7 separate regions of the Homo sapiens genome follow, and regions 2, 3, 4, 5, 6 and 7 are each linked to region 1. Evidence: promoter capture Hi-C in 16 types of primary human blood cells and fetal thymus (Javierre and others, 2016). All regions are on one chromosome and are shown on one strand. The core of a region is centred on a gene start or on the middle of the fragment in contact, and the rest is flanking DNA. Distances in the headings are between cores, read along the strand shown. Region 1 holds the start of SST (somatostatin). Region 2 has its middle 7.0 kb from the start of RTP1. Region 3 has its middle 12 kb from the start of RTP1. Region 4 overlaps MASP1 (MBL associated serine protease 1). Region 5 overlaps MASP1 (MBL associated serine protease 1). Region 6 overlaps MASP1 (MBL associated serine protease 1). Region 7 has its middle 36 kb from the start of RTP4.

The links. The method cuts DNA at HindIII sites, captures the fragments that hold promoters and counts their contacts. A CHiCAGO score of 5 or more calls a contact.
Region 2: a fragment that was not itself captured here is called in contact with the fragment with the promoter of SST in region 1 in 4 of 17 cell types (M0 macrophages, M1 macrophages, endothelial precursors and 1 more); the score reaches 8.0 in M0 macrophages.
Region 3: a contact is called between a fragment that was not itself captured here and the fragment with the promoter of SST in region 1, in 6 of 17 cell types (megakaryocytes, M0 macrophages, M1 macrophages and 3 more). The highest score is 13.2, in megakaryocytes.
Region 4: a fragment that was not itself captured here is called in contact with the fragment with the promoter of SST in region 1 in 1 of 17 cell types (M0 macrophages); the score reaches 5.3 in M0 macrophages.
Region 5: a fragment that was not itself captured here is called in contact with the fragment with the promoter of SST in region 1 in 6 of 17 cell types (megakaryocytes, endothelial precursors, M2 macrophages and 3 more); the score reaches 8.6 in megakaryocytes.
Region 6: a fragment that was not itself captured here is called in contact with the fragment with the promoter of SST in region 1 in 6 of 17 cell types (M2 macrophages, M0 macrophages, megakaryocytes and 3 more); the score reaches 7.8 in M2 macrophages.
Region 7: a fragment that was not itself captured here is called in contact with the fragment with the promoter of SST in region 1 in 16 of 17 cell types (M2 macrophages, M1 macrophages, M0 macrophages and 13 more); the score reaches 14.8 in M2 macrophages.

The regions. Positions count from the first base shown.
Region 1 is chr3:187,668,657-187,671,929 of GRCh38, reverse strand. It overlaps SST (somatostatin), which reads left to right and starts at 1,536. Exons shown (of 2, transcript NM_001048.4): 1 at 1,536-1,776; 2 at 2,653-3,018. The coding sequence starts at 1,639. The coding sequence ends at 2,865. The HindIII fragment of the contact is 4,322 bases long and covers 1-3,073 here.
Region 2 is chr3:187,188,864-187,192,136 of GRCh38, reverse strand. No RefSeq gene overlaps it. Among named protein-coding and RNA genes, the nearest start is that of RTP1, 7.0 kb to the left of the region's middle. The HindIII fragment of the contact is 2,953 bases long and covers 170-3,122 here.
Region 3 is chr3:187,207,853-187,211,125 of GRCh38, reverse strand. No RefSeq gene overlaps it. Among named protein-coding and RNA genes, the nearest start is that of RTP1, 12 kb to the right of the region's middle. The HindIII fragment of the contact is 1,949 bases long and covers 724-2,672 here.
Region 4 is chr3:187,244,825-187,248,097 of GRCh38, reverse strand. The region is part of intron 8 of MASP1 (MBL associated serine protease 1); the gene reads left to right. Among named protein-coding and RNA genes, the nearest start is that of MASP1, 45 kb to the left of the region's middle. The HindIII fragment of the contact is 7,784 bases long and covers 1-3,273 here.
Region 5 is chr3:187,262,674-187,265,946 of GRCh38, reverse strand. MASP1 (MBL associated serine protease 1) reads left to right here. Exons shown (of 11, transcript NM_139125.4): 3 at 3,227-3,273. Among named protein-coding and RNA genes, the nearest start is that of MASP1, 27 kb to the left of the region's middle. The HindIII fragment of the contact is 586 bases long and covers 1,519-2,104 here.
Region 6 is chr3:187,282,850-187,286,122 of GRCh38, reverse strand. It overlaps MASP1 (MBL associated serine protease 1), which reads left to right. Exons shown (of 11, transcript NM_139125.4): 2 at 67-298. Among named protein-coding and RNA genes, the nearest start is that of MASP1, 7.3 kb to the left of the region's middle. RefSeq lists an enhancer at 1-283. The HindIII fragment of the contact is 2,645 bases long and covers 241-2,885 here.
Region 7 is chr3:187,331,218-187,334,490 of GRCh38, reverse strand. No RefSeq gene overlaps it. Among named protein-coding and RNA genes, the nearest start is that of RTP4, 36 kb to the left of the region's middle. The HindIII fragment of the contact is 4,956 bases long and covers 1-3,273 here.

The sequences.
Region 1 (3,273 bases), core at 287-2,786:
TGCTTAGTCTTGGCTGGCCTTGTCAAGACCTGGAAACTTTAACACTTCTTGCTGTGCATTTCCGCTTTGCCTTGGATTACAAGCACAAAAAGAAATAGTGACAATTATTCAAGCCATTCAGGATACTTCCCAAACCCTTCTGCCTCTCAACACTGTGGTTCGGGTCTAAGTACTGAGAATATTTTAATACCTAATATGAGCTTCGCATGGTTTCCAGAGATGCAGCATATCTTTTTAGCTAATATTGGCTTTTTTGAAGCTCATAAGATAACAGCTCTTAAAGATCCTGTAGGGATCATCTCGTCCATGCTAGGAAATTAGCTGGTCCTTCCTCAGTAAGGAACTATTTAGATAAAAGCAGTCAGAACTCTGGCCTGAACAGTAAACATTTAACCAGAGTTCAATCAGAATTCAAGGACAGGTTTTCTTAAACTTTCTTTGTTTCTAGGAGATCAGGCAGAGCTGAATTTAACCAAGAATCTTTTGATCCTTTCCACATATAGATATACAATAGTGGTCACATATGTTCTGGGAGTTCCTAGACCTTATATGTCTAAACTGGGGCTTCCTGACATAAAACTATGCTTACCGGCCAGGAATCTGTTAGAAAACTCAGAGCTCAGTAGAAGGAACACTGGCTTTGGAATGTGGAGGTCTGGTTTTGCTCAAAGTGTGCAGTATGTGAAGGAGAACAATTTACTGACCATTACTCTGCCTTACTGATTCAAATTCTGAGGTTTATTGAATAATTTCTTAGATTGCCTTCCAGCTCTAAATTTCTCAGCACCAAAATGAAGTCCATTTCAATCTCTCTCTCTCTCTTTCCCTCCCGTACATATACACACACTCATACATATATATGGTCACAATAGAAAGGCAGGTAGATCAGAAGTCTCAGTTGCTGAGAAAGAGGGAGGGAGGGTGAGCCAGAGGTACCTTCTCCCCCATTGTAGAGAAAAGTGAAGTTCTTTTAGAGCCCCGTTACATCTTCAAGGCTTTTTATGAGATAATGGAGGAAATAAAGAGGGCTCAGTCCTTCTACTGTCCATATTTCATTCTCAAATCTGTTATTAGAGGAATGATTCTGATCTCCACCTACCATACACATGCCCTGTTGCTTGTTGGGCCTTCCTAAAATGTTAGAGTATGATGACAGATGGAGTTGTCTGGGTACATTTGTGTGCATTTAAGGGTGATAGTGTATTTGCTCTTTAAGAGCTGAGTGTTTGAGCCTCTGTTTGTGTGTAATTGAGTGTGCATGTGTGGGAGTGAAATTGTGGAATGTGTATGCTCATAGCACTGAGTGAAAATAAAAGATTGTATAAATCGTGGGGCATGTGGAATTGTGTGTGCCTGTGCGTGTGCAGTATTTTTTTTTTTTTAAGTAAGCCACTTTAGATCTTGTCACCTCCCCTGTCTTCTGTGATTGATTTTGCGAGGCTAATGGTGCGTAAAAGGGCTGGTGAGATCTGGGGGCGCCTCCTAGCCTGACGTCAGAGAGAGAGTTTAAAACAGAGGGAGACGGTTGAGAGCACACAAGCCGCTTTAGGAGCGAGGTTCGGAGCCATCGCTGCTGCCTGCTGATCCGCGCCTAGAGTTTGACCAGCCACTCTCCAGCTCGGCTTTCGCGGCGCCGAGATGCTGTCCTGCCGCCTCCAGTGCGCGCTGGCTGCGCTGTCCATCGTCCTGGCCCTGGGCTGTGTCACCGGCGCTCCCTCGGACCCCAGACTCCGTCAGTTTCTGCAGAAGTCCCTGGCTGCTGCCGCGGGGAAGCAGGTAAGGAGACTCCCTCGACGTCTCCCGGATTCTCCAGCCCTCCCTAAGCCTTGCTCCTGCCCCATTGGTTTGGACGTAAGGGATGCTCAGTCCTTCTAAAGAGTTTTGGTGCTTTTCTGGGTCCCTCAGCTCCCGAAGCTCTTGAGAAAACTATCAAAGGCTAGAATCCCCTTCTAACTCTTTTTTTCCCCCATGATAAGCGCAGTCGGTCACAGTTCAGGTGAGTTCTTACTTGGCATTCAAGAAAATTACAAAATCTGGGTAGTTGTCTGGGCACGAAGCGACAATGGCGTCTATCCCTGGTGCTGACCCTGGGAAGCGCTGACCCAGGTGCTGAAACGCAGACCTCTGAAGCTGCTACCTCTTAGCGTACCTCACTTCCAAACGTCGGGACTAGGGCAAAGGGGCAATCTAAAGACCGAACGCCGTATGTTTGAGATTGTGAGAAGTCTCGTTCCCCTACAGTTTACTTGGTAAAAATGGTAAAACAATTCTACTTTGTAGCTCGTGATGTGAAAATTGAATTAAACTGTTGGCACACACTTTATCTTACCAGAACGGTCTTTATGTGTGTGTGTGTGTGTGTGTGTGTGTTTGTGCGTGTGTGTGTGTGTGTGTGTGTGTTAAGTCTACAGGGACAGAAAGGTTGCAGAAACATTTGAGCTCTTAAAGCCTTTTTGTGTAACTTGGTAATTATAGCAACTATCCTTATTTTTATATCCTTGATTGATTTTAAATGTGACAAAAAATGCGCAGCTGTAAAAACTGGATTTTGTGTGTGACCAAATCTGTTCTTTAATTTAGGCTTTTCAAATTTTTTCCATTGTCCTCCCCACTTCTCTTTCTCTCTTTTTCTATCCCTTCTGCCCTATACAGGAACTGGCCAAGTACTTCTTGGCAGAGCTGCTGTCTGAACCCAACCAGACGGAGAATGATGCCCTGGAACCTGAAGATCTGTCCCAGGCTGCTGAGCAGGATGAAATGAGGCTTGAGCTGCAGAGATCTGCTAACTCAAACCCGGCTATGGCACCCCGAGAACGCAAAGCTGGCTGCAAGAATTTCTTCTGGAAGACTTTCACATCCTGTTAGCTTTCTTAACTAGTATTGTCCATATCAGACCTCTGATCCCTCGCCCCCACACCCCATCTCTCTTCCCTAATCCTCCAAGTCTTCAGCGAGACCCTTGCATTAGAAACTGAAAACTGTAAATACAAAATAAAATTATGGTGAAATTATGAAAAATGTGAATTTGGTTTCTATTGAGTAAATCTTTTTGTTCAATAATACATAATAAGCTTGAGTGGCGGTTTCAGTAAAGTTATTTGAGATAGGTACTCCAATGTTCACAAACATCTATTTAAAATTCTCGGTGGCAATAAAGTTTACATTTTAAATGATAACTATTATAACATGAGTCATTTTAAACAGAAATAATTTCACATAACTCTATGCATTCAAACTTTAATTCAATGATAATTACTGGGAGAGGCTGACATA
Region 2 (3,273 bases), core at 397-2,896, 480 kb after region 1:
ACTTCCCTTCCTCTCCACAATGCCTCTGCCATTTGTGAACTTTCATAATGCCTTATTCACCATTATGGTATTTCTCCACTTGGGTCTTTCCTTTTAGCTGCTCAGGCTTCTTCACTACATGGTAGTTTGTTTCCAAGAAGATTCATTCTAGGAAGAATAAATGGAAGCTTCCAGTCCTCCTTAAGGCTAGAGTCAGAAGTCCCATAACATCACTCCTGTCATATTCTGTTGATGAAAGCAATCACAGGGCCAGCCCGATATAGGGGAATGGGAAATAAACTTCAACTCTTGATGGGGAAATTGCCTGTGCCTATAGGAAGGGAAGGAATTGGTGGCAGCCATCTTTGGAGACTTTCTACCACAGTACCTGATTATTTTTCTTCATCCTTCAAAGAGCTTAGTGCCTTGAGAACACGATGTCCAATTCTATGATGTAGGTAGAGGTTGACATTATTTTGCAAAAAAAAAAAAAAAAAAAAGCAAACTAAGGATCAAAAAGGCAAAGTAGCCAAAGAGTAAACTAATCCAGCAAGTCCAATCCCAAAACATAGCCAGATAGGAACAGTAGGGCTGCTCCCTTTGGGTCAAAGCAAAGGAAAGCATTACAGGTACCCAGCCTGCCAGTACCACCCACCTCTGCATGCCCAGTCATGATTTATAAGAACCTCTTCCTTTGCTTCCCCTCCACCCCAACAGCAACCATTGAACTTCTTTTCCAAGCTCTTGCTCAATTTTGTGAGGCATATGTGCCTACCATCAGCGAGGGCCCTTCAGAGATATACAGCCCAAAATCCAAAGTCCCCCAGTCTTCATTCTCTTGAAGTTTTATCCCCATAAAACTCTGTGTTTTTTTTTTTCAGAGATGGGTTCTGTCTATGTTGCCCAAGTTACTCTTGAGCTCTCAGGCTCAAGCAATCCTCCTTTTCAGCCTCCTGAGTAGCTGGAATTATAGGCACACATCACTGTGCCCAGTCTATGTGTTTTGTTTTTTCTATGTTTGTTTTTTGAGACAGGGTCTCACTCTGTCACTCAGACTGGAGTGCAGTGGTTCAATCATGGTTCACTGCAGCCTCGATCTCCTGGGCTCAAGTGATCCACCCACATCAGCCTCCCAAATAACTGGAACTACAGGCATGCACCATCATGATCAGCTGATTTTTTAATTTTTTTTTTTTTTTTTTTTTTTTTTTTTTTTTTTTGTAGAGGTAGGGTCTCACTGTGTTGCCTCGGCTGGTCTCAAACTCCTGGGCTCACGTGATCTTCCCACCTCAGCCTCCCAAAGTTCTAAGACTACAGGCATGCACTACTGCCCAGTCTCTCTGCTTTTTTTTTTTTTTTCAAGTGCAAGATCTTGTCTTTGAGAAGAGCATTCATCAGAAAATGTTCTATGGATATTACCAAGGGAACAGTGCCATGGTCCAGGAAGTGAAGAAGGGCATACTTGAGAGAAATTATCAAGTCCTCAAAAACTAATTTCCCTATTTTCAGGATATTTGATCTAAAATAAAAGACAGCTTCCTTCCCCTTATTCTGAAGAAGGGGCAAGGCAACATTACATGTGGGGAAGCAACAATGTTATTCATTTATTTGTTTTTTAAAACACTCTGAATTATCAACTACCATGTGCCAGGCTCTATACTGGACACATGGGATATAGAGATAAATTAGTCTCACTCATTTCATGTCCAGTGAACATCAATAGCCAGGTGACCCACACTAACCCAGAGCCTTTGGCTTAGGACATGAAGACTGACCCTTAAGCATGTTCCTGTTGCCAAGCAGCCACTATTATGGGAACGTATCTTCAGACTGTACCCCCAAGAGATTCTTCCTGAAGCAGTTTTGGAAAGATATGCAACCGTTCAACCCTAATAACATTTCATGGAAGGTCTAGTAGGAAATGAAGTCACTGTACATTATCAGACCGTCTTACTGTGGTTGAATGGCATACTCATGGAGTTCAGAAGACAGGACACAACTTTCCTTTACTCTTCCATCAAATCTCCAATAGGTCCACTGAGAGTCCACCTAGAATGCATGTCCAGAACTTCCCCTTATTTTTTCTGGTCTCCTTTCTAGGTCTTCTCTTTGATCTCTTCTGCTCTTCTACTTTCTCTTCAGGACCTTGCTTCAACCTTCGGTGTAGAGTATCTATAAGCTAATAACCTTTCTCCCACTAATACTGACCACATTCCATTGCATAGCTGTCATTTCTTACTATGCTAACAAAGTTTATGTCCCTTTATTCTATTATATCAAAGACCTCTACTCACTAGGGTAAAAAGAAAGAAAGAAAGTGGAGGAAGGAGTAGAAAAAAATCCATTCTGATGCACACTTGCCCTCCTTCTGAGCATGATCTTTCCAAGAAAAGCAATAAAACAAGAAAACTTGGTCCTCTCTTTTGCAAATGAGAGGAAACCGCTCTGGACAGCAGATGTGTATTTCACAGTGGCCACAGAATAAACCTGAATCACATTTGCATTCAGTCACTTTGGCTGAGTCTCTACCATATGACCTGAAAATACAAAGATGTATAGAACAGAATTATGGAGTAAAAGGGATCTTGGAAATTATCTAGTCTAATCCTAATCAGATGTGCCAGTGACTCTGAGACATTTCATATGAAGACATAAATAGGTATAAAATAATCAGATTTTAATTTAGTGAGAAGATGGTTCTTCATATAGAATGAGGAGACTTCACTGTCTATCTTTAGACAGACCCAGTGATCTGGGATTAGGGTTGCCTCTGAAATTGAAGTAATAACCAATGCCTATTGAGAGCCAAGCAGTTACCTAGCCTGAATGTGAACATTTCCAGTGATGTGGAGCTCGTTATCCAGTGATAGCAGCACTCTCTAACCCCTGGCTATTAAGAAGCTCTTCTTTACTGAGTGCCACCATCTCACTTTCAAAACCTTGACTCTCTGTGCCTTGCAATAGAAAGCACTTAACAACGTGCCAGCCCACAGTAAGCAGGCAGTTAATATTGACTACTTTTGGGAAGTGAAAGGGGTGTTGTGGTTTTATTGTTACCACTATTAAAGCCTATGTTTATAAGTTGTGAAATTCTGCATTGGCAGAACACCACTGGCTTGTTTTAGTCTTTAAACATGAAAGCTTTTTTAAAGAATACCTTGTAATGAGCTGAAATGCAACTTTAGGAGAAAGACAGAGCACTATTTATTCTACTCTCTGACATAATTTTCCATAATGGCAAAACAATCTCTATTTGTTAATCTGAATATTATGGAAACTTTCAAGCACATAGAA
Region 3 (3,273 bases), core at 449-2,948, 460 kb after region 1:
TGAAATCCTGGGGTAACAATCAGATGACCTGTTGGAAGGGTCAGGGTTAGGACACCATTCCAAATTCCCCTCCTTCCCCAAAATAGGGCTAAGTAGCAGTTTGTGATTAAGGTCAAAGCTGGCAGAGACCCTTCGGGCACTTTATCTGATTGCTTTACAAATAAGGAAACTGATATCTAGGGGAGAGGAAAGACTACGTCGCCCAAGGCCAGCAGCCTAGATAATGGTTAAACCAGGTCTGAAACCAAGGTTTTCTGACTCCAAGGCCAATGAGCTCTTCTATACCACAACCACTAATGCAACCACCTCTACAGGACTCTGTAACAGCATAGTCATATAACAGGCGGATTTCATTTCCCTGGTGCATGTGGCAGTACCCAAGCAATGCCAAAAATGACTCCAAAGGAAATTCCTTAGCTAGGAGTCCCACAGAGAACCAGAATGGGACTTGGAAAAGAACTAAATTCCTCTGGAGTATTCCAGCCAATGGGAAGGGAGCCCAGAAAATTACTGGTGTTTTCTGTTTAAAGAGATGTTTTTAAACAGCTATCTTTGAAGAATGAAGAGTGACCATCGTGCTTCTGGAAAAATGAAATCATTGCTTTGAAATAAATATGAGGGAAGAAAATAAATAACTCTACAGTTAATAAATAAACCATTTCAAAGCTGCAAAATTAACCCTTGCCTTTTTTTTTTTTTTTTTAAGTATTTACCAACCAAGCTTAACTGAAATCATAGAGAAGGAAGAGCCTTTCAGGACTCAAAGAGGAAGCTGCAAATTAGAAGGGAAAGAGGATGAAAGAAGAGCATGAGCATTCAGTGAGCATGTGCCCTATAGCAGGCATTATCGTAGACAGAGTATTCTTTATTCCTGGCAATAGCCCTCCAAGGCAGATAGGATTATTTCCATTTTGATGAGGAGGAAAATGAGGCTTGCTTGAGGTTACAGAGCTGGTAAGTAGCAGAACCAGCACTCAAGTGTTTTCTGACCCCAAATTTCATGATCTTCTCTTACCCCATGATATACAATGCTAGTCAAGTTTCCTAATTTCTCTGGGCTTCAATTTCTCATCTGCAAAATAAGGGCCCTAGCTCAAAGCATCTCTAATTTGTCTTATAGCTCTGATAGTCTATGGACTTACTATGTCGGACATATTCCTTCCTTGGCAGTCCTCTCAGTTCTCAGGGCTCCTGAACCCCAGAAGGAATCCTCCCATTGAGCTGGTCCTCTGTCAAGATGGGCATGAGGAAAGCAATAGAGATAACAATTTTTCTCAACCCTACACCAAGAATTTCAGCCTCTGGAACTATAATTCAGTGCTTGTAGTTCTCTTCCTGGCTTGAACATCAAGACAAGCAAACAAAAGCTCCAGTGGGAGAGGCCCAGGATCCAGGAATTTCCCTGAGGAGTTTATTTATAACACATAAGATACATCTAACAAGTTCATTATGTGGCATGTGGCAATGTGTGCAAAGAAAGAACTATCACAGAGAAATCTTTGCCAAGACAGAAGCAAAGCCCATGAGCAAACCCAGAATTCCCCATCTGCAGCAAGTATAAGAGGCAGTAAGAGAGGCAGGTGAGGCCTCCTTAGATTGAAACATCTTCCTAGCAGATCAGGAAGAGTCTTGGGAAACAGTTCTGGACTAAAACTAGGTGAGACTTGGATGCTTTGCTCTACCATCACCTGACAGTAGGCCCCGGGGTTAGTTACTCCCACACTCTCACCACATTTTGTCATTTTTGAAATGAAGTGATTGAGCCTCTAATGGTTCTTCCAACTCTAACATCCCATGACTCTGTAAATACTTGCTTCCCTAAGTAGACTTTGAGAATCATAAAGTCTTGCAGTTGGAAGGAGACCCTATGAAATGGAAAGCAGAGGGAAATATACTTGTTCTTAGCAGGAGCATCTATTCTATTCTTGAATGGATAAAATGAAGAGGAAAGAGTGTAGGCTGGAAACGGAATGAGTTGGAATTAGCCTGGCAAAGAGAAAAGAGGAACAGATGGAACAGCATGTGTGAGGTATCATTATGGCCCTGCGTGGAGGCCGGGTTGTAGGAAGACAAGAACAGGGAGAACAGTTGAGTGTGTTGCAGTGAAATGGCAGACGAGGCAGATCCAAACCCATGTTCCCCTCATAGAAACATTAAAACAACCAGAAACTCAATGAAATTAACTTTATAGGAGTGTTGGAAAATGGTAAAAGGTCCACAGCAAAGAAGTGAAGGCTCAGTCAAGAAAAAGCCACATTCAAAACATCAGGAAATTCATGGTGTTTTTACTCACCCTTGACCCACACTTTCCCTGGTGTGGCACAGGGAGATGCAGCAGCCCATGCCCAATATCCTCCTTTAGAACAGAAGGAGCAGATCAGACCTTATTTGCAATGTTTTAACATCTTTGTGGGGCTGCCTGGAGGGCTAATCTCCCTCTTTAACCTAGGGTCGCAGGCATGGGAGTCTGCTTTAAAAAGCTCCACAGACACCTGTGGCGAGACATTACAGGTGGAGCTACACAATAGATCATCTAAGACCCAGAGGAGAAGCTGGAGTGAGACTCTGGGAAATGAAGACATTCAAAAGCAGGCCTGTATACTGGGAAATTGAAAAAGCCATAGGCCCAGTCAAGATGCATGCTCATAAAAGAACTGAAAAGACTTTAAGCTTTCACCTCTGGCTGATCCCTAGGTACAGGGCACGCCCAGCTAATTAGTGAAGGGCTTCTCTGGCACAAAGCCAGTCTGCAAAGACTGGAAGAGGTGGCTATACTCCAAATGCCCCATCTTGAACAACTACAAAATTACCTAAAGAATTGAAAGCAAGAATTCAAACAGATGAATCATTGCCCACTAATGTTTGTGGAAGCATTATTCACAATAGGCAAAAGGTGGAAACAATTCAAATGTTTTTCAATGGATGAATGGAGTTTTAGGTATCCTGTTAGAAGCAACAGAAAACAGACTAAGAGAGAAAATTGCTACCAAGGAGTGGGGTGCTGCTTGTAATGAATACCTGAAAATGTGGAATTGGCTTTAGAATCAGGTAATGGGCAGAGGCTGAAAGAATTTGGAGGAGCAGTCTAGGAAATGCCTAGATTCTGATGAAGGCTTAGAAGACAAAAAGACTAGGGAAAGTTTGAAACTCTTTAGAGACTGGTTAAGTGGTCATGACCAGAGTGCTGATGGAAATATGAACAGTAAAGGCCATTCTGATGAGGTTTCAAATAGAACTGAGGAACAAAGTATTTGAAACTGGAATAAAAGCCAT
Region 4 (3,273 bases), core at 575-3,074, 420 kb after region 1:
CTCACTCTGTAGGTATTTATTGAGCATCTCTCTGTACGAGGCACTGTGCTAGGTCCTAGGGGAGAGGCAAGGACAGGACTGAGGAGTCGAGAGTCCCCAGGCTTCTGGGGCTTACAAGTTCTATGTTTCTTAAAATTCGCTGATTAAAAATTTTAAAAAGATAGATATCACACCTGAAAGCAGTGGCCCCAGCTCTGTGCCATGGGATATCACAGGTCCTAAACAGTGATAGAGAAAGGGCTGGGGAGTGGCAGCTGGAATCTCTGCTTCCAGACAAGAGGGGTGCACTCTGTGGTAAAGAAACGTGCACTAGAAAAGAAGCTGGGAATTATGGGTCATTGTTCTGGCCCTGCCTCCACCTTGCTGTGGTGACCCCGGGACAAGCCCTGTTCTACTCTAAATGCTGTCAAGTGAGGGTTTGGACCAGATGCAGGCAAAGCTCCCTCCAGGGGCAGAATTTTATAATCCTCATGAGCCAGGATGTATGACTCTGCAAATTCTCAGAACGATACAAATTCCACAATCCCAAACTGTTCTTCACACTGGCTGTACCTAAACTATGCATTCTTAATCAATTCTGGTGGAGTAATTTCTGTATTTCCTGCATAAACTGTTTCTGCTTTGCTTGCTAATCTCTCTCTCTTTCTCTTCCTCTCTCTGCTTCCTTCCTCTGTATCTCTTGATCCCTCTTTGATCTTCACCATGGTGGCAGAAAATGAAATCGATCTGGAGAGCGAACTCAAGTCAGAGCAAGTGACAGAGTGAATGACGGGACCCCACACAATGCAGACATCCAGAAATGGATCACTCCCAAGACCCCTGGGGCCCAGAGCTGCACCACCCCTCCCCACCCACAACACCCCCGTGCCCCTTTCCATGTGGATTAGAATGGGTGCTGAACAACATGATCTCAGCAGTTGAAGCTGCTACGTGTGTGAAAGCAAATTCTCCACTTGAGGGTTTGCCCATCATTCAAACACTATTCCAGAAAATAATGAAAAAAAAATGTGGGATTTATTTTAGCACCTCTGAGTGGACTGTACTTTTCTCAACGGAAAAAAAAAATGCCCTTGGTCCTTGAGACAAAAGATTTAATATACAACCATGTGGCCTCAGGCTGACCAGATCAAAGTGGTTTCTAATCCATTCTACATGTCAAGTTTAAATGAACCAGACTGCCTGTGACTTTATGAATCTGAAGGTATTACCTGTTGCTGCTTTCTTAACCACCATGAGTAGGTAAAGCAAATAATAACTCACAGAGTGTGGATTTTTGAGAATCTGAATGTTTTCTCATTCACAAAAGTATCCCTTCTACCCCTATCTGGCGCAGGGCTGAAATGTCATCATTAGAGGTTCTGTCTTCTGGGGCTTACAAGTTCTATGTTTCTTAAAATTCGCTGATTAAAAATTTTAAAAAGATAGGATCACACCTGAAAGCAGTGGTCCCAGCTCTGTGCTGTGGGACATCACAGGTCCTAAACAGTGATAGAGAAAGGGCTGGGGAGTGGCAGCTGGAATCTCTGCTTCCGTCTGAACATCTGGACACACATGTCAGAGAATCTTTGCATTAAATGGACTGCCCGATCTATTTGGTGATTAAATGGCTGTGCGGTGAGGGGAGAACCCTGGGCAGTCTGGAGACTGAGGTGCCATTCTCGGCTAGAGACACCACCCAAAGAAGAGATGGGCTGGCTACTAAAGACAAGTGTCAGTTGAATAAATGTCTTTAAACCTACAACGTATTAACAGCATTCATACTCAGTGACATACAGGGCATCAGAATTTAAGAGGAAGATTTGATATGTACCCAAATAATTGTAATAGCTTTGATGCAGACAACATTAGATATATTCCATCAAAGAAACATGAGTGAAGAGTTCCAGAACAAGGAAGCAGCCCTGCCCAGTTAGAATTAGAAAGGCTTTCAAGAAGAAGGAGTGTTTCATCAGGACTTCAGGGTGGCCAGAGCATGGACACAGGGTGCCCCGTGCAGCAGGGATGGCACCAGAGAGGCCTGGGAGCAGGAGGCAGCAGGGGAGCACACTGAAGGAGCTGGTGTTCGGAGGGTGGGTGCACCAAGGGGAGGAAAGAAGATGAGGCCAGGGAGGGGGCTAGAGCCCAAACCCCCAGGCCTGAGTGCCAGGGTTAGCTGATTGCACATCGTTCTCTAGAAAGCCCCCCAGTACAGCAAAGCACACTTGGAACTGTAGGTCAAGAAATGTGTGTCTGGAGAAAAATAAGTGGCAACAAGAAATTACCATGGAGATAGGGTGTTGGGCGGTACCTCCAAGGCAAGGGGAAAGAGAAGGGTGTTTTGATTCCAGAGTGCGGAACTGGCCAGACAGGACTTTAGAGAAAAGGATAAAACCCTTCCTAAAGCAAAGAGCATAAGTCAACGGAGGAAGCAGGGTCTAGTGTGTGCTGATTGTGCCAGACAGAGCTGCTCAAGGCCTCTTGTGAGGGGTTAAGTCACTTCCATGTCCCAGAGAAACATGGCTTTTTCCCTGCCACTGTGGACTTGGGAAGAAAGTACGCCCCTCCACACTGCCAAGACCCTCTACCTTCCACTATTTATCACCCCCTCTACCTAGTTGTAGGGCCAGCTGTATCAGTGGGCAAAGTTACTTCTCTGAAGTGATGTGAAAGTAGGTCCTCCACCCAGAAAATATCTATCCGCCAGCATCAGCCACATAACAGGCTCCCAGGGGCCCGTCCATCTAGCCACACTAAAGCCAACCCTGGAATTCCTGAACTGGGCGGTCAGGTGGACCAAAGTTAAGGGAGATGAGTGATACCAATACCTAGGCACCAAGTCAATGGCATTTTCTGAAAAAGGAGGAAAAATCGGCTTTAACAGAAAATAAATTTAAAACTGTTCATAGTATTTAAATAATAAATATTATTGCCTCATTATCCTAGTGTTGAGCTGCACACATTTACCTCACAAAGTAGAAGAGCATCTGTACTTTTGGATCATCAAAACAAATGGAGATGATTTGTCCAGGGTGATTGGACTAGAGGCCAGGACAAAACCAGTTGTCTTGATTGGCCTTCTTAGTGGATAAGAAGTACCTATATTTACTCCCCTCCTTCATCTTTTCCTCCAACCCGGAGGGACTTGAAATTATTTGCATTTTGAGTGGACTCTCTAGCTAATCAAAAAGATGAATTTGGAGTCCTAAAGTTAAAATCACAATGTCTAAATGGCACTCAGGGATAAATTATATCTCACTGTTTCCCAAAATGACCAGGTAAAATTCAGGAGGACAT
Region 5 (3,273 bases), core at 562-3,061, 410 kb after region 1:
AATATTAACCGGGACCAGTGACCCCTCTGTTTAGGTTATGACTGGAGCTGTCACTGAGCCACATCCTCTCTAAGAGACAGTCCATGCACCCAAGATAAGGTTTCAAGAGGCCTTTGAGCCAGGAAAATTGTTTGGCCAAGTGTCTGTGTCTTTAGTCATGTACTCTCTGGGTTGGTGGGTTCTTTTCTCTCATCTCAGAATAGTTCCCAAAGCAAAACTGATATCAGAAAATGTTCATGTTATCTCTCCAGCCTTGAGCAAGTCACTTCCCCTCTCTTGACCTCTGTTTCCTATAGAAGGAGGCAGATAGAAATAGCTCTTAAAGGTCCCGCCCAGCTCTGATATTCCAGGACTCTATTCTGAGCTGCAGGCTGAATTCCCAGGGCCCCAGGCTACTGGCCTTCTCTTCTCTGCTTCTAAAAGGATGTATGGCTCAAATTTTCCCATGGGCCTCAGCTGGGGCATGCTTCCTGTTCTCTGGAATACTGTGGCTCTGCAGGTGATAACCATTTATCTGATTTATCTGCCATTATGAAAAGGTCCTTCAGCCCAGACGTTACAAGGAGGGAGGTCATTTATCACAGACCCTCAGTAGTATCTCCCTAATCCAAATGACCAGTGTGTTCACTTGAAAATGTTCATGTCCCAGTCACTGCAGAACCCAAGAGGCACTGGGGATACCAAGTTCCAGAAAGAAGCCTGTGTAGCTGGAACTATTAATGCCCAAGGCATGACTATTCATTATTAACAAATTCAAGTTCATCCGCAAGCAGTAATCCTGCATATGTTAAAACTCCTGCTTACCATCTTCTGGTTGGTTTATATAATATATGACTATGATGATTTGTTAGAACTGTGTTAGACTATGATGACTGCTATGTCTGGAATTGGAAAGGAATCTAGAGCTCAGCTAGTCCAAACCCCTGTTTTTACAAGTGGATAACTGAGAGCTAGAAAGGAGATGGCCCAAAATGCAGAATACGGCAGTGTCAGGAACAGGACCCAGGACCTCCAACTGCCAGGTTCCTGTATATCGTATTACTCCAAAGCAGAGGTCACCAAGATGGTGTACTCTAGTTCATGCAGTTACTCACAGAAGAATCCCTTTCCCAGGCCCTCATTCTAAATCTATTTAGCTTTTTTTTATTAAGTTCTAGCAAAAGCAGTTAACTGGTTTCTAATTCACAACATATTAAAAATAAGCAGACAGAAAAGTACAGTGAATAGGCTGATAAAAAGACAGGAAATAAAACATGACATAAAGAAGACTTCAGAAGTTCAAGGCTTTATAGTCCGGCAATGTTTAACGCCAGGTCAAGCGACATTACACAACTCAATATCCCCAAGATTATCACTTTAATATAGTATCACAATGGTTGACATTCATAACAATGTCCCTGGATCACCAAGAAAGGGTTAGCATGTTTCACTTGAGAAAGTGGGTACTTCTTTAAAGTACTTTTTTTTTTTTAAGTGTTACACCAAAAAGAAAATTTTTAGTTATAGTTAGGTAAAGCTTTGGCTATCTGGAAAACTGAGTCAGATAAAATAACACAGCAGCTGGGAGGTTCAAGGAAGTGACATTTCAGCTGTGTGCAGATAGGCACATTCTATAGTAACAAGACTGGTGTGAGTTCGGCTGGTATCTGCAGAGAAGAGGAATAAATAGCAAAGCCATGATCTCATCTTCTGTTTACACTTCAATTCCCAAAGTTAGTGATTAATTGTACTTGCGTTTTGTTGCCAGGGCAAATTGTTTTTCTTTGAAACTCCCACTTATTTTAAATAAATAAACCATTAGTTTCAAAACAGGAGTGTCAAATGTCAAGATATTTCTGACATGCTAAGCTAACGAACAAAACAATGAATTCATTAGAAGCTACTAGAGATAGCCGCCTTTGAGAACTTTTCTCTAATGACTTTGAAAGGCAGCAGGAATCATTCTTGGTAAGAGATTTTTTTCATGCATCTTGGCTAAAATTTGGTCCAGAGGTTGCAAACACAAATACAACTTAAAAGAATTGGATTAGGTATAAGATAATCGAATAGATACGTCAAGAATTTATACTCAAATAAATATACCAACTAGCTATCATACGAAGCTTCCCAAACTCCTGTCTCACATAAAATCAGCTTTAAGCCACCAGTTTAGGATCTCTGCTTGGATCTCTGAATTCGCACAGGGCCTCTGGCTCTTCCAAAGAAGGGAATTCTTTTAGCAAACAGGCATGTTTTTTGCATCTAAGTCTTAACACAAACATGTACACACAGAGATACACACTCAAACTATTTTTGGGTGATTCCAATAAATAGTTTCTGTATTAAGACTGCCTATTAAACATTAGTTTTCATTACATGACTTTCCTGCTTAAAAGTTTTCAGTGTCTTCCACTTACTCACAGAATTAATGGCATTCAAGGTCAACCATAATTTTCTTTCCATGTATCCTTCCAAGTACATCTCCTCCTACAATCCCCACAGACTCCCTGGCTACTCACTGTTCACAGAATGGGGCTTGTACTTTCAGTTCTTGTAAACAAATGTTTATTGGATAACTATTATGTGCCAGGTCCTGTTCCATGCACTGAAGACACATCTATAAAGAAAATAAAGTCCTTCTCTCCTGTAGCTTATATTCTAATGTGGATTGTTTGCCTGCTTTGAGTGCATATGCAGTGCTTCTGCTTGTGTGAAAGCATTTGTCACACTGTGTAATACCTGCCTGTGTCTGTGTTCCTCAATCTCAACACTGCTATTGTGTGCACAGCACTGTGTCTATCTCTCATCACCTCCATCTCATGCTTTGCTCGGCAGTAGGCACACACTGGATACTCAATGAATGACTTATATTGTGTATACAGTTTCCATTCTTTGGAAATGTGGTAAGTTCCTGTTGTGCAGAGAATCTGTCTGCGAGGTTATCTAACTTTTTAAAACTTTCATATTGAGTTATTTTTAATAAATAAGCTGCTTGGTTATTGACAGCAACAACAAATATCAAGCTACTTCTAATGGAACTAAATAAGACGAATGAAACTGATCAGATGTCCACATTGAATTAACTTGTAATGCGTCTTTTCTCAAGAATCCTTAACCTCCTTTCTTTGGGTTTCTCAGGCTGACTAGCCTACTCTTGGGTGGCCCCTTCCTTTTTCTTTCTAAAGATAAGGAAAGAAGCCTAGCTGGGAAACTGCTCATCTTGTTCCCTTTCTCTTTGACCTCAAAGGTAGAAACTGAGGACCAGGTGCTGGCAACCTTCTGTGGCAGGGAGAC
Region 6 (3,273 bases), core at 314-2,813, 390 kb after region 1:
TGATTGAGATGAATGGCAGGGGCCTGTGTTTATAAATGTAAGTAGACCTACATTCATGTCTTTCAGGTGGCTGCTTCTCTATTATGCTCTGTGCTTCTCCCTGTCAAAGGCTTCAGCCCACACCGTGGAGCTAAACAATATGTTTGGCCAGATCCAGTCGCCTGGTTATCCAGACTCCTATCCCAGTGATTCAGAGGTGACTTGGAATATCACTGTCCCAGATGGGTTTCGGATCAAGCTTTACTTCATGCACTTCAACTTGGAATCCTCCTACCTTTGTGAATATGACTATGTGAAGGTGAGACTCCTGATGTCCCCTAACTGGGCCAGGCTCTCTTCTGGGATTTAGACAAGGCAATATGAAATTAGACCCTTCCAGGGTGGCATATAGTAAGAGAGACACACAACATCACAATGGTATGAATTCAGGTCAAGGTGGAAAGCTAAGTGCAAGCTGATGGGTAGAACTAGAAAGGTCCATGAAGGAAACTGAAGCTGATTGATAGAGTATGACTCAGCCCAACACAACATCCCTTCTTTCTTCCTGTTCTCAAAGCCTTTAGTGTTTCTACCAGCCTCTGTTCCAAGATCACCTTTAATTCAACAAGCAGAAAAGGGCAGAGACCTCAGAGTAAGCAGTAATCATGGAAAGAGAACCATAATTATGTCCAAAGTTGAGGCATTAGAAAGCATTGTCCAATTTCCCAAATAAAGATCAAGTATTTGGGAAGTGCAGGATATACAGTAGTAAAGAGTCAGAGATGAAGTAGGAAGGTGAGTGGAGGCGAGATTCTTAAGGGCCTTGAATGTCATGCCAAGTAGTTTGCATTTTATCAGCAAAAAGTGTGGGTAGGAAGGGGACGGTCACCATCAGAAGTAGATGTAAAAAGTAAATATGGGGGAAGAGCAGGACCACATCAAAACAATATACCCTGGAATTTAGAGAACCCCCCACAAAAAAAAAAATTCCATGGGTGGGAAGCTGTTCTTCTTTTAAAGTGAGGCTGAAAAAGGTCAGAATATTTCTAAGGGATCAAGTTTATTGCAGTTATATCTAGTTAAAAAAGACGTGGAGACCTAAGAACCTACCTTCTAAGCTCTCTCCAGCTTCCTGAAAGAGGTTCTCATCAAACAACTCTAGAGCATTTAGATATTTTTAGTATTATTGTAGACTCATTATTCCATAGCCAGTAATTCAACATGAATTAACCTTGTATTAACCAGAATATTTGGTCAACAGCAGAGAAGTGAGTTTACAAGGTGCTTTTACAATTATAATCTCAATCAAACTTTAAAACAATTTTGAGACAGGAGCCATGACCCCATTTCACAGGTAAAGAAGTAACCCAGGAAGGTTAAGCAACTCACCCAAGGTTGTACATCTGGTAAGTGATGGATTAAGGTCTCAAACCCATGCCTTGTGTTTTTGAATCACATGCTCTTTTGTCTACACCAAACAACTCCCAAGCTATTCTCCACTGAGCCTAAGATACAGCAGAGGCATACAAAGGCACTGTGCTTCCGCTTATTTTATATGTAGAGTATTGTCATTGTATATGTTGGGTCTGCCTGCAATGTCCCATTTACAATAGGTCTCTGCGTCTAAAAATTTTCCAAAATTGGTGTTCCATGGTAGGGATTTTTAACCTCAGCACTACTGATATTTTGAACCAGATCATTTGCTGAGAAAAGCTGTCTTGAGCATTGTGGGATTTTTAGCAACATCCCTAGCTTCTACCCTAACTAGGTGCCAGTAGCAGCCCCGGCCCCACCAGTTATGGCAATCATAAATGTGTCCAGATGTTGTTCAATGTCCCAGAACCACTGCTATATGGGATGATGCCCTCTTAGAATGCCCTGTGCTAGGGACGGTGGAAATTTTAGGACACAAAAGATCTGGTCCCTTAAAAAGAAAGATGAGTCTTGAAAATAGCCATTGCACAAGATAGAAAACAGTGATGGCAATAAAGACTAACTGATAAAGAATGAGAAAATGTGGAACTGGTTGCTCTAAGAGACAACGCGGATTGGTAATCTAGATGCGATTTCTACAAATTCATTAAAAATAGAACAAATTTCTCAGGGTCACAAGGATCAACCAGGGGGGTCTTCACTGAGGCCATGAGTATGTATCATCCTAAACTGAACTTTCTGACAAAAAGGCCAGTTACGCTTTTCAGGATAAAAGGGTTATCCAGAGTTAAACTCCAGGATAAGATGGATTGTAGGTATGGGTCCTCAGGCTAAGTGGAATCTCCCGGCCCATTCCCCCAAATAATGTTGGTCACAAAATCATGGCATTCTTTAGTATTTTGGTTGGAGAGTTGTCTTAACCGGAAGAAAAATTACCAAACACTGGTTTAATATGACAATAAGTTCCATGGATTTAGACAAGGCTAGATATGAACTTTCTAACCACATTTTTCTCTACTTTCAAACATGCTAACCATCTAGAAATTTTGTCAGTGCCAATAGCTTTTATTGGTACCTGAGGCTCAAGATCACAGAAATTATAGAATTTTTTTGCTCAGTTGTAGGGATGACTTCTTCTCATAATTTGCCCCCTCTCCTCCTTAAGATTTGACTCTTAACTTCATAGTCATTGAGAAACTCTTTCTCTTAAGTTTGATTCTTTTTCAGACAGAAGACAAATTTAACCTTGTTAGGTCTCCTTCATCAAGATGATAAACACACAAGAGAGGATTTAGCTCATTTCTTTGCTCCAAATAAGTGGAGTATCCAAGGAAGGCAGATGAAGCAGCTGACATAAAGCAGCATTTTGTTAATGGGAAAAAATGATGATACTTTTCAAGAGCAATAATATAATCTGAAGACCTCTTCTAACACTGAATTAAAGACACTGGAATAGATTTCTATCCAAAGCTTGACTTTCTTGGCTAGAGAATATTTTGGAAATTGGTTGATGGTTTCTATCTAGAGTGGTGAGACTCCTTCCTGAAACCACAAGTAGATGGACATGGGCCCTCTGGAAGGGGCAGCATGGTCCTGGGCCCTTACATGGAATTCAGGAAATGCCTTTTCTGGTCTCAGATCTGTCACTAACTCCCCAAATGACATGGAGTGGAGAAGAATATTATTTTACAGCACCCTCTCTGCTCCAAAATTAGACAGATGACCTCTGGGCATAACAGAGAAGTAGTCTACTTGAGGCAACTTAGGGACTGAGCTGCCTACCTGAAGTGCCCTACAGTCCTTGCATCTGTGAGTTGGGACAATTTTCCAGTTCCTTTCAAAGAAGAGATTAACATGGTG
Region 7 (3,273 bases), core at 492-2,991, 340 kb after region 1:
TAAGTGCCATGAGGACAAAAACTGCCTAACTCATCACTGTTAAATCCCCCATACCTGGAACATAGCGGACATGAAATACACATATCTGATGACAGACAGATGAAATGTTGAATGTGTCTGACACATAGCTGGTGCTCACGAATATTATTCTCTCCTCTCCTCTCCTCTTTGAGAGTAGACCACTAAGCCCTCCACAGGCAGTGATCCCTCAGCACAGAGCAACACAGAGCAGAGCTGAGCTGCTGCATGAGGCCGAGCCCAGCCTCTCTCCTGGGTCCTGTGTGATCCGAAACCCAAGCAGCAGCCCCAAGTCACTCGAAGTCTGGTGAGAGTGATGCCCATATCAGCAGTTATCAATCCTGAAGTATTCAGTATTTAAGAATTTTCATCTGGAAATCTTTTTTAAAATAGTGGTGCCTTGGTCCTACTCATAGTGATTTTCATGTAGTTGGTCTGGAATGTGGCCTGGTCTTTGGTATTTTTAAATAATTTCCCTAGGTGATCCCAATATACAGTAATGGATGAGAACCACTGATCTGGTTCAATCACCATTTTTCAGATACAAAGGCTGAGGCGCGAGGGGGAACGGAGTTAGCCCAAGAACCTCCAATACCTTTTGCAGAGCTGGAGCTAGAAGTAGAAGAGCTAACTTTCCACCCACAGCTCCTTCCACTGCACCAAGTAACAAATTGAAATCCCCTTTATCAATAACAGAGGCTGCTTTCCTGGCATCAGACAAAGCTGGGAGCAGAGAGCTTGTTTTTTCACCCTAAAAGATCTGTTATTAAAAGCCTGTTTATGCAAGAAGGGTATAATTAAAAGTGAATGAGTGCCATTTTTTATCGCAATGAATATTAATTAAAGGAAAACACTGAGTCAATACTCATTAGAAAAAGACGGAGGCTGAAAGGCAGACTGCTCATACCAGGGTTGTCAATCACATCAAGCAGTAATGAGATGACAGGACCCTAATAGCAAAATGTTGCTCTATTTTCCTCAAATCCTCTTGGATTTAGAAGTTAGCCAAAATGCAAATCTCAGGCTAGGCTCCGTGGCTCTGCATTCTGCTTGGGCACAGGACTGTCTTGCCTAGGACACAGCCCTCCGTGGGAGTCAGGCTGTAAATGGTTTTACTTATGCAGGGTTAGAATGCTAGAGAAGTAAGTGGCCTCTTCAGCCTCCCTAGAGAGTGAGGGGCCAAACAGATCCAGTGATTCTTGCCACATTGTTCCTGTCCCTGAGCCCTGGGAGAAAGGCAAAAGCACAGACTTTCCCAAAGAAGAATCCTCAAGTCATCAGCAGGTCGCCAGAGCTGATAAATTAGGCTCAACTGGGAGGCTTTTAAAAATGTGTTTGCCAGGCCTTGCCTTGGTCCTACTGAATCTGAATCTTTTGGGCTGAAGAGACGTAAATGGGAGTAAGCATTTAACAGATTCTCATGTTAAACTCTGGTTTTTAGCCCAGCTCAAGATCTTTGCTTTCCTTTGTCAATTGGGGTCTTAGATGATTTTAGTCATCTAAGAATCAATCAATCATTGATTCATTCATTCAGCTGATAAATATTTATCTTCATTAGGCACTGTGCTAGTCACACGTGAAGACAGAGACTTGACCTCTGTTTTCTAGTTTCCTGTGGTTTAACAACAGAAATTACCATCGTGATGACTGCGCCATGAAGGAGGAACACAATGGTGAGGGAACACAGAGATAGGAGAGCTCAGCTCTGAATGGGGAGTCCATGAAGGCTTCTAGAGATGATGAATGGAGAACTAGGTTGAGTGGCATGTTCTCCCAGCAAATGTGCAGAGCCTTAGAGAGGTGGCTGGAGAATCCATTTTAACTGGAAGGCAGAGGGTGTGGTGTTTCATGAGGCTGATGAGTGCTGGATGGGGAAGAGCTCATGCCATGTAAAGGCATGTGCATTTCATCATGTCAAACACAAATTGTACCTAAATTGTCTGACGGAATACAAATATCAGCAAAGAGGAAAAGAAGCGAATGGTTCAGGAGACTGACACACACACTGGTGGGTTCTAGTGGGAGCACATGCAGAGACGGCAGGTTTAAATGCTTCTTCATTACACTGGACATTGGAACCAAACAAGTGTTTGGGGGAGTGATATGGTTTGGCTTGTGCCCCATCCAAATCTCATTTCGAATTGTAATCCCTGCATGTCAAGGGAGGGAGGTGACTGGATCATGGGGGCAGTTTCCCCCATGCTGCTATCATCATAGCTAGTGAGTTCTCATGAGATCTGATGGCTTCTTAAGTGTTTGGAAGTTTCTCCTTTGCTCTTCTCTCTCCTGCTGCCTTATGAAGAAGATGCTTGCTTCCCCTTCGTCTTCCACTGTGATTGTAAGTATCCTGAGGCCTCCCTGGCCATGTGGAACTGTGAGTCAAGTAAATCTCTTTCCTTTATAAATTACCCAGTCTGGGGTATTTCTTCATAGCAGTGTGAAAATGGACTAATACCGGGAATTTCAAAAGAAATGCCAGATAGGAAGGGCACATCCACTTAGGAGCCAAGATAGCAAATATTTAAGTAATAATGGAAGACAATTAAAAAAAGAGACCAGAAGTTCAGAGAAAGGAGTGATATCTTCCCAGAGAAGCTGAGTAGATCCTGAGCAGGCAGGGAGGAGAGGAAAAGGAATTTTAAGCTGGGCAAGTCTTGGCCCTGGGACCAGCAGCTGTGAGCAAGGGCCCTGACCACTATTGTAAACCGAGAACATCTTCCTGGGCTTTTTGACCCATGGCTGTGGACAAATGCCTAACAAATTCCTAAAGAGAAGGGCCCCATGTCTGGTTGCACCTGCACAAACAGAGCAGCAGGATGGGTACCAGTTCTGACCACCAGGAACAGGTGAGCTCCGCACTCATGTGGGTCCATGTGGAACATTTTAGAAGAGAGTAAGTGGATTCTATTTTTTCTGAGACTGGTCTTACAGAATTGGGGTTCCTCAGCTCTGGCAGGGCCTGCGGAGCTCCTCCATACCAGCTCTCACAACTCAGAGAGACGCGAGATTTCAAAATGAATGTCTGAGGGTACAGGGACCCTCCCACTATCACTCTGCCATCTAGTCCCACCTGAAATGAGACCTTTTCCCTTGAAGGACCTGTTCTCTATTCTTCTGGTTAGCAAACCCAGCTTCACATTGCATTGGACTCACCTGGGGAATTTTAAAACTTGTTGATGCTTGGGTCCCACCTCTAGAGATTTTTTTTTTTTTTCTTAGAGACAGGGCATTGCTTTGTTGCCCAGACTGGAGTGC